Regions from separate parts of the Homo sapiens genome. Here region 1 is linked to region 2. Evidence: promoter capture Hi-C in 16 types of primary human blood cells and fetal thymus (Javierre and others, 2016). All regions are on one chromosome and are shown on one strand. Each heading gives the region's core, a stretch centred on a gene start or on the middle of the fragment in contact. The rest is flanking DNA. Distances are from core to core; before and after follow the strand shown.

Evidence for each region. The method cuts DNA at HindIII sites, captures the fragments that hold promoters and counts their contacts. A CHiCAGO score of 5 or more calls a contact.
Region 1: a fragment that was not itself captured here is called in contact with the fragment with the promoter of CDAN1 in region 2 in 1 of 17 cell types (endothelial precursors); the score reaches 6.5 in endothelial precursors.

What each region holds. Positions count from the first base shown.
Region 1 is chr15:42,949,823-42,954,495 of GRCh38, reverse strand. UBR1 (ubiquitin protein ligase E3 component n-recognin 1) reads left to right here. Exons shown (of 47, transcript NM_174916.3): 45 at 2,048-2,218; 46 at 4,133-4,234. Among named protein-coding and RNA genes, the nearest start is that of TTBK2, 31 kb to the right of the region's middle. The HindIII fragment of the contact is 562 bases long and covers 1,682-2,243 here.
Region 2 is chr15:42,734,778-42,738,883 of GRCh38, reverse strand. It overlaps CDAN1 (codanin 1), which reads left to right and starts at 1,756. Exons shown (of 28, transcript NM_138477.4): 1 at 1,756-1,871; 2 at 2,104-2,582; 3 at 2,806-3,009; 4 at 3,205-3,374; 5 at 3,510-3,623; 6 at 3,706-3,784. The coding sequence starts at 1,782. It overlaps TTBK2 (tau tubulin kinase 2), which reads left to right. Exons shown (of 15, transcript NM_173500.4): 15 at 1-154. RefSeq lists silencers at 1,570-1,819, 2,010-2,149, 2,240-2,529. The HindIII fragment of the contact is 7,008 bases long and covers 1-4,106 here.

The DNA.
Region 1 (4,673 bases), core at 713-3,212, 220 kb before region 2:
ATCTAGTTATAACCATTGTTTTAAGCCATGAAGTTGGGGAAGTTAACTGGCCCAATAGGGTCTTCAGTAGCTCACACCCTAGCCACTGTTACAGTATAAAATTGACCTTCCTGTTCTAGCTCCCTTTCTAGTCAATCATCTAAAGGAATGGTTGGGTCACTTTACCTTTCAGCCCTCAAACAATTAGCTAATTAGTTTCAAAGATTGCATCCATCTCTAAATTCAGTAATTTTCCTAATCTTGGGGCTACATTGCTACCACAAAAGCCTGGTGAATAGATATTATCTTCCAGGCATTAAGAATACCAGGTTGGCTGAGTACAGTGGCTCATGTCTGTAACCCCAGCACTTTGGGAGGCTGAGGTGGGTGAATCTCTTGAACTCAGGAGTTCAAGACCAGCCTAGGCAACATGGGGAGACCCTGTCTCTACAAAAAATACAAAATAATTAGCTAGGCTTGGTGGCATGTGCCTGTAGTCTCAGCTACTCGGGATGCTGAGGAGAGAAGATCACTTGAGCCGAGGAGGTTGAGGCAGCAGTGAGCCGTGACTGTGACACTGGACTTCAGCCTGGGTGACAGAGCCAGACCCTGTCTCAAAAAAAAAAAAAAAAAAAGAATATCAAGTTGTTGGCTCCTCGGAGGATCTGTGGAGAGTGTTGGTCTTTATTAATCACAATGAGGATCCTTCTGGATGATATTACCACTTATGATTTCACATAAGAATGAAAATCAATCCTATGATGTCTTCCAGTTTTATTGTCACCACCAATTTCCATAAGACAGAACCATCCCTAGTGTTGGAGGGTGGCTGCTCAGTCATATACTTTAGGCTCCCTCCCAGCTTTTCCTCTGTAGGATGTCTAATGACTCAGACTCAGCCATCCTGTGTTAAAGATGAAAGAAGATGTTGGCTTTATCCAAAAAGGGCTATAATTATGTTCTGGAGCAACCTCCCGGAAGTGAAAATAGTCCTCTCATCCTATGCGCAGAGTCCCTCTGCTCCTATGGAGACAGGTGTTTTTTGTTTTGTTTTTTATCCTGTCTGAGAAACTGGGGATCAGAAAAAAGGCTGTCAGTACCCTATTGGAGATTCTTTCTGATCTTCTTTATTCCGACCCCAGTGTGGGCCTAGTTGGATCTCTCCTTCGGTTGCATTTATCTTCTACTTCCCAAATTAAGGAATTTGATATTTCCCATTGTGTTCAGTGTACAGCATAGATGGGAGGAGCATGGGAAACTCCTTTTTAAAAGATAACCATTATCCCCCTTGGTGGGGCATTATAGCACGCCTCCAGCATACTATGTAAAATGGTCTCATCATAAAACACTAGTTGACTCAAGCAAGTCAGCACTATCACTTTTTCCTTCCTAAGACTTACTGTGATTCCCAGATGGAAGGCTGGGCCAACTCAAAGGCTACAATCTCTCATTTCAGTCCCAGCTACTCGGGAGGCTGAGGCAGGAGAATTGCTTGGACCGGGGAGGCCGAGGTTGCAGTGAGCCGAGATCATGCCATTGCACTCCAGCCTGGGTGACAGAGCAAGACTGTCTCAAAAAAAAAAAGAAAAGAAAAGAAATGGGGGGAATGTGTTTGGACCCTTACTGTAAATTTTAATTTTTTTTCTTTTAAACAATTGCATACTTACAAGGTCATATTCCTTCAACATCGAAGACACAAGCTTGACTAACACAATACAGAGGAGGCAGGTAACTGTAAATTGGGCATGTCAGATGAAGACTGGAGTCTATCAGTGAATCTCAATCACAAGGCATATTCAACCACCATACTTTATGAGAATTATCAGGACACCATTTATGTAATATAGATTTTCTTACTATGGATTAATTGGAAGATTTTCCATGAAGCCCTTTTAGGGGGCATATTAAAGAGGAATTGGCTAATTAAATGTTTCCTTGTGTTTTAAGAGCTTCCTTGCTGGAAAGGGGTCAGTGATGAAAACATGCTTGATTGCTAACAGGATATATGGTACTTATTTGTTTTGTTTTGTTTTTCCATCATTCTCTAAATGTTTTCTTCTCTTTTGAGGTGCCCACGGTCTGCAGATGATGAGCGAAAGCATCCTGTCCTCTGCCTTTTCTGTGGGGCTATACTATGTTCTCAGAACATTTGCTGCCAGGAAATTGTGAACGGGGAAGAGGTTGGAGCTTGCATTTTTCACGCACTTCACTGTGGAGCCGGAGTCTGCATTTTCCTAAAGTGAGTAGTGAGTGTTCTGGAAGCTTCATGATGAACTTAAGGAATCTGGATCCAATCTGGGGGTCACTATGGTGGGACAGTGTGTTGATAGCAAATAATCAATCAGAAGTTAGAGTATTAACCTGTTATTGACATGAAATTGCATTTGAGAAGATACTGTGAAAAAAGAATAAGTTTCTGTTCACATTTCCATTATTTATGGAAAATCTTAAATAGGATAGAGTTTGTATTAATTGCTCTGGTATTATATAATACTCAGGTGTAATGAAAGAACTTCAAGTCCTAAAACTTGTATTTAAAAAGTACTCTTCCTGGAAGATGAGCTCTTTAAAATAAATAAAAATAAACAAATAAAAGGTACATGTAGGCCAGGCACAGTGACTTATGCCTATAATCCCAGCACTTTGGGAGGCTGAGGCAAGAGGATCACTTGAGGTCAGGAGTTCAAGATCAGCCTGGGCAGCAAGGCGAGACCCCCATCTCTATAAAAAATTAGCCAGGCATGGTAGCACATGGCTGCAGTCCCAGCTACTTGAGAGGCTGAGGTGGATGGGCTGCTTGAGCCTGGGAGTTCAAGGCCATGATCGTGCCATTGCATTCTAGCCTGGGCAACAGAGTGAGATCCTCTATCAAAAAAAAAAGTACATGTAAATTTTTACTTTAGATTGTCCTGTGATATCTTTATTTCATCTATCAACCCACCATTTCTCCTGGTCTTTCAGCAAAAGATTGAGGATAGAAAAATAGTCACTTATGGCCGGGCGCGGTGGCTCTCGCCTTTAATCCCAACACTTTGGGAGGCCCGAGGCAGGTAGATCACAAGGTCAGGAGTTCAAGACCAGCCTGGCCAACGTGGTGAAACCCCATCTCTGCTAAGAAGACAAACATTAGCTGGGCGTGGTGGCGCATGCCTGTAATCCAAGCTACTCAGAAGGTTGAGGCAGGAGAATTCGCTTGAACCTGGGAGGTGGAGGTTGCAGTAGGCCGAGATTACACCACTGCACTCCAGCCTGGTTGACAGAGCAAGACTCTATCTGGGAAAAAAAAGAAAAATAGTCACTTATATTTATGAAAAAAGAGTTTAAGTTGCCTGCAGAGAAATAAAATTCAAAGTGGATATATATCCTTTTTCTTTCCACTCTCCTCATGTAACACAGTTTCTGTTACATAAAGCCAAATGTCTTTCTAACTGTGAAATATGTAATCATTGTTCATAGGCATCTTTTGAACCAAGGGGAAAGAATGTATGGAAGCCAAACCCAAACACCTATTTTTAGGGAACCCACAGCAAGTAAACCCACTACCTTATCCCAGCTGTTTATTTTATAATTTATCTGTAAAGTACTTATCCCCCATATATGTGTACGCAAGCCTTTTTTATGTCTATTTCCCAAGAGACATAAAAGTCCCAGGTGCCTTCAGGGTGGTAGTGGCTCTTTTAATCTGCAGTGTTTCAGGCCAGCTCTAACCAGAAAAGCTGGCATACTTCCCTAGTTGATATTCTGTCTGGCTTGAGGTTATCAGACTAGGAGATGTGATTCTGTTCTTCTGTGAGGTTCCCTCCCCTCTCCAGGTTGTGTCAGGAATTAGAATAGAAACAACCCCAGCCACCATTTTCCAAGGTGTCTGTGGCTGAAGTAGGACAGTTTCCTCCCTTCAACAGATTCCGTCAGTATAAATGATCTCATTTCACCAAATCCACTGCTCCTTTTCTATAGCTTCAACAGAAATAGCAATAAGTGTTCTCTTTTATTTAGACAAAACATAATTTAGTCTATTTGTCTGTTTATATTGTCTTTTTACTGAATATCTAACAGATATTGGCCACGTCTTTTCTCTAGGTTAACATTGATGCAGTGCCTATCATTTGCACACATACACTTAACCATATTTCCTATTGATTTTCTCTTTCAGAATCAGAGAATGCCGAGTGGTCCTGGTTGAAGGTAAAGCCAGAGGCTGTGCCTATCCAGCTCCTTACTTGGATGAATATGGAGAAACAGACCCTGGCCTGAAGTAAGATTTTTTTTATATAATAGGAAGGTTTCAGTAAGTTCTCTTTTATGTTGATTGTTTTCTATTTCAGTCACATTATTGTATGTAAACGGTAATAGTTCTTTAATCACAAAAGGTAATTGAGGCCAGACACCGTGGCTTATACCTGTATTCCTAGCACTTTGGGAGGCCGAAGCAGGCAGATCATTTGCGGCCAGGAGTTTGAGACCAGCCTGGCCAACATGGTGAAAACCCGTCGCTACTAAAAATACAAAAATTAGCTGGGCATGGTGGTGCATGCCTGTAATCGCAGCTACTTGGGAGGCTGAGGTAGGAGAATCACTTGAACCCAGGAGGTTGCAGTGAGCCAAGATCGCCCACTGCACTCCAGCCTGGGCAACAGAGGGAGATTCTGTCTAAAAAAAAAAAAAAGTAATTGAGAGCTACTTTTTATTTTTAT
Region 2 (4,106 bases), core at 507-3,006:
GATCAACGGGGAGCAGATAGTGTTACTGTAAATGCAGTACCACATCTAGAAGTTCCCTAGAAAAAGCAGCCCAGGACTGAATAGAAGCTAGGTGTTAAGTGTCCCTGCAGTTAGGAGATGTTTTCCTGTAATAAAATTAAAATATTAAAAGCTCCTTTTTAGTCCATTATTCTGTCTGGCTGGAGGTACTTTTTCCTTCTCCATAGGAAATACCCCTTCTGCCACTAGAGAGATTCCTGCACCCCCACCCTCATCCTTCCGCCCGTAACCTTCCTTTGAACCAGAGCAACTCTCAGGAGGCATTCACAAGGGCACTGCCTCACCCCTCCTGGTTTGGTTTGACATGGAATGTTCGTGCCATCTGTTTTTCTCCGCTTGGATTCCCTTGCTTGATTTGTCACTGAGCAGCAACCTTCAAAATCCTCTCTCAGGTTTTTTTGTTTTGTTTTGTTTTTGAGATGGAGTCTCGCTCTGTCACCCAGGCTGGAGTGCAGTGGCGTGATCTTGGATCACTGCAACCTCCGCCTCCCAGGTTCAAGCGATTCTCCTGCCTCAGCCTCCCCAGTAGCTAGGACTACAGGCGCGTGCCACCACGCCCAGTTAATTTTTGTATTTTTATTAGAGACACGGTTTCACCATGTTGGCCAGGATGGTCTCCATCTCTCGACCTCGTGATCCGCCCACCTCTGCCTCCCACTGCATTCCAGCCCCGGGGGTGACAGAGCGAGACTCCATCTCAAAATAAAATTAAATAAAGGAGATTAAGAAATTACTCAGGCCGGGCGTGGTGGCCCACGCCTATAATCCCAGCACTTTGGATCTGCTGCCCTCTCCCGGCCAAAACATTAGCTGGGCTATAGCCCTAGGGAGGCTGAGTCGGGAGGATTGCTTGAGCCCAGGAGGCCAAGGCTGCAGTGAGCCGTGCTCACGCCACTGCACTCCAGCCTGGGCAACAGAGCAAGACCCTGTCTCAAAAAAAACAAAACAAAAACAAAAAACACCAAACCCAAAAATACAAACCTCAAGCTCCCAGAAGCTAATCATGATATGCTTACTGACATCTAAACTGCAAAGTAGTTGAAATATTAACCTCATGTAAACCCACTTAAGTAAATAAAGCTACATACAAGCAATTCTGTGTGCAGGGTGGCCCGAGGCACTTTAAGGGTTGTGGCTTGGGGATTATTAAGAACCTCCTAGAAATAATTCTTTCCTAAATGGTCAGTTGATGGTGAGCGCTGAAAAGCCGATGGGTACTGCTCGGCCAAGGGATTGAAAAATCGGCCTTTGAGAAGAACAAAGTCAAAATGAAAGATTAGATTATAATTTCTCTGGGGTGGTGCCAGTTGGATCTAGGAAACTTAAACTCGTGAAAGAATGTGCTTAGAGCAGAAGATAGAAGCTGGTGGCTGTCTCTGCTCCCCTCTACCTCTCTCCCGGGTCCTGGGTCTCCCTAGAGGGGCGTCCGACCCGCGGCAGCCCCACTCCCAGCTCGAATCCCTCCCTTCAGGTCGCTCCAGGGCGGGCAGCCAAGGTGGGCCTCCCCAGGCGCTGTGATCCACATTTCACCTCCTAACAACCGGCCTCTCGGCCGGGGTTGAGGACTCAGCGAGGCCTTGACTCCGTGGGTCTGGGCAACAGCCGGCTCCGCCCCGCCCCGCCAGCCGGGTCCCTCCCCATCCCGCGACCCAACGGTCGTTCCCCGCCGCCGGCCCCGCCCCTCCCTGGCCGCCCGCGGCGCGCCGGCGCCTGCGCAGTCGCCCCAGAGCGCCCCGACCGGGATGGCGGCCGTTTTGGAGTCGCTGCTGCGAGAAGAGGTGTCGGTCGCAGCCGTCGTGCGGTGGATCGCGCGCAGCACCCAGGGTTCGGAGGTAACAGCGGTGACACGCCCCCAGGTCTGACTCGAAGCCGGTTCCCGCAGTGGAGTCCAGCCCTCCAGTCCCCTTCCTCTAGGGCGCCTGGCTGCCAGCCGGGCCGAGTGCACTCCAACTGGGCGCCGCTGCCCGGGCCGCCCACCCGAGGCGCGCCCTACGGCCCCGGCTGCTCACGGCCCGCGGGCCGGCGGCTGACCCTCTCGCCCCTCCACCTGTGCTTCTGCCCTAGGATAACGCTGGGGAGGCGGCCGCGCTGAGCTCACTCCGGGCCCTGCGGAAAGAATTCGTACCGTTCCTGTTGAACTTCCTGAGGGAGCAGAGCAGCCGCGTCCTCCCGCAGGGGCCCCCGACCCCCGCCAAGACCCCGGGCGCCTCGGCAGCCTTGCCAGGGAGGCCGGGAGGCCCGCCGCGGGGTAGCCGCGGGGCGCGCAGCCAGCTTTTCCCTCCGACCGAGGCCCAGAGCACCGCTGCCGAGGCCCCTCTGGCCCGCCGCGGGGGCAGGAGGCGGGGCCCGGGGCCGGCCCGCGAGCGTGGAGGCCGCGGCCTGGAGGAGGGGGTCAGCGGGGAGAGCCTGCCCGGAGCCGGGGGCCGGAGGCTTAGGGGCTCTGGCAGCCCCAGCCGCCCCAGCCTCACGCTGTCTGATCCGCCAAACCTCAGCAACCTGGAGGAGTTCCCTCCCGTAGGCTCGGTTCCCCCCGGCCCTACAGGGTGAGACTCAGCTCTCATGCAGGAGATGGGTACCACGAAGGCTCTGGGGAGTCAGTCATTCGAGCTCGGCGCTCCGCAGTGGAGCGCCAGGATGGGTAGAAGGCTGGGGGTGATGGTGAGGGTTTTTGTGGGGTTTTTTGGCAAGAGGTCTAGCTGTTGCGGTGGTGGAGGGGAGATGTTTGAAGATAGGAATTTGAGAAAAACCTGTGGCTACTCTCAGCAGGACGAAGCCTTCTCGCAGGATCAACCCAACTCCGGTGAGCGAAGAGCGGTCACTCTCCAAGCCCAAGACCTGCTTCACCTCACCCCCAATCAGCTGTGTCCCCAGTTCCCAACCCTCAGCCCTGGACACTAGCCCTTGGGGCCTTGGCCTTCCCCCAGGGTGCAGAAGTCTGCAAGAGGAGCGAGAGATGCTCAGGAAGGAGCGGTATGGCCTGGCCGCTCCTGGGGATATCGGTTTCCTCGCTGTGGGGGATCTTCAGGGGTTTTCCCTGAAATTGATTTCCCTCTTGGGGACTCTGGGTTTGTCTCCTGGGCTGTTGGTATCTTCTCTGGAGTGACCTGAGTGTGGCCGTAGCAGGGAAGCCAAGCTGACTGCTCATGAAATTTCTTTATTCCATAGCTCTAAGCAGCTGCAGCAGTCACCTACCCCCACCTGTCCCACCCCAGAATTGGGGTCGCCCCTCCCCAGCCGGACAGGAAGCCTCACAGATGAACCTGCAGACCCTGCCAGAGTGTCTTCCCGCCAGCGCCTGGAGCTTGTAGCCCTTGTTTACTCCTCGTGCATTGCTGGTGAGTGAGAGCGGAGGGAGCGGGAGTGGAGACACTTGTAGAACTTATGGGTAAGAGAATTGGTAAGGCACTTGGAACTGAGCCTTGGCTCCAAATGGTGCCCATACCATGGGCTTTCTTTTTGTATCTATCTAGAGAACCTGGTACCAAACCTCTTCTTGGAGCTTTTCTTCGTCTTTCAGCTCCTCACTGCCCGGAGGATGGTGACTGCCAAGGACAGCGACCCTGAACTAAGTCCAGCTGTCCTAGGTCAGTGAGCAAGCCTCCTTTTGAGACATGGGGTCTAGAAACGGGACCGTTCTTAACTGACAGCTTGGTACTGTCCTTCTAGATTCCCTGGAAAGTCCACTGTTCCAAAGCATCCACGATTGTGTCTTCTTTGCAGTGCAGGTTTTGGAGTGTCACTTTCAGTGAGTTTCCCTGGCTGAGGCATTTGGGCCTCATTCTCATCATCTGCTTAGCTCTCTGGCTGCTTGGGATATATGCTGGTGCTTAACACAGGGGCAGTGGTCCTGGACCTTCTCCTACCTATAATCTTTCTTTAATTTTGTGTTAAGGCTATGAATGTAGTCCCTGAAAGAATTGAGATCGGGCCAGGTGTGGTGGCTCACGCCTGCATTCCCACCACTTTGAGAGGCCGAGGCAGGACAGTGACTTAGGCCCAGGAGTTTTAGACCAGCCTGGGCAACATGACAAAATCCCATCTCCACCAAAAAAAAAAAAAAAAAAAGG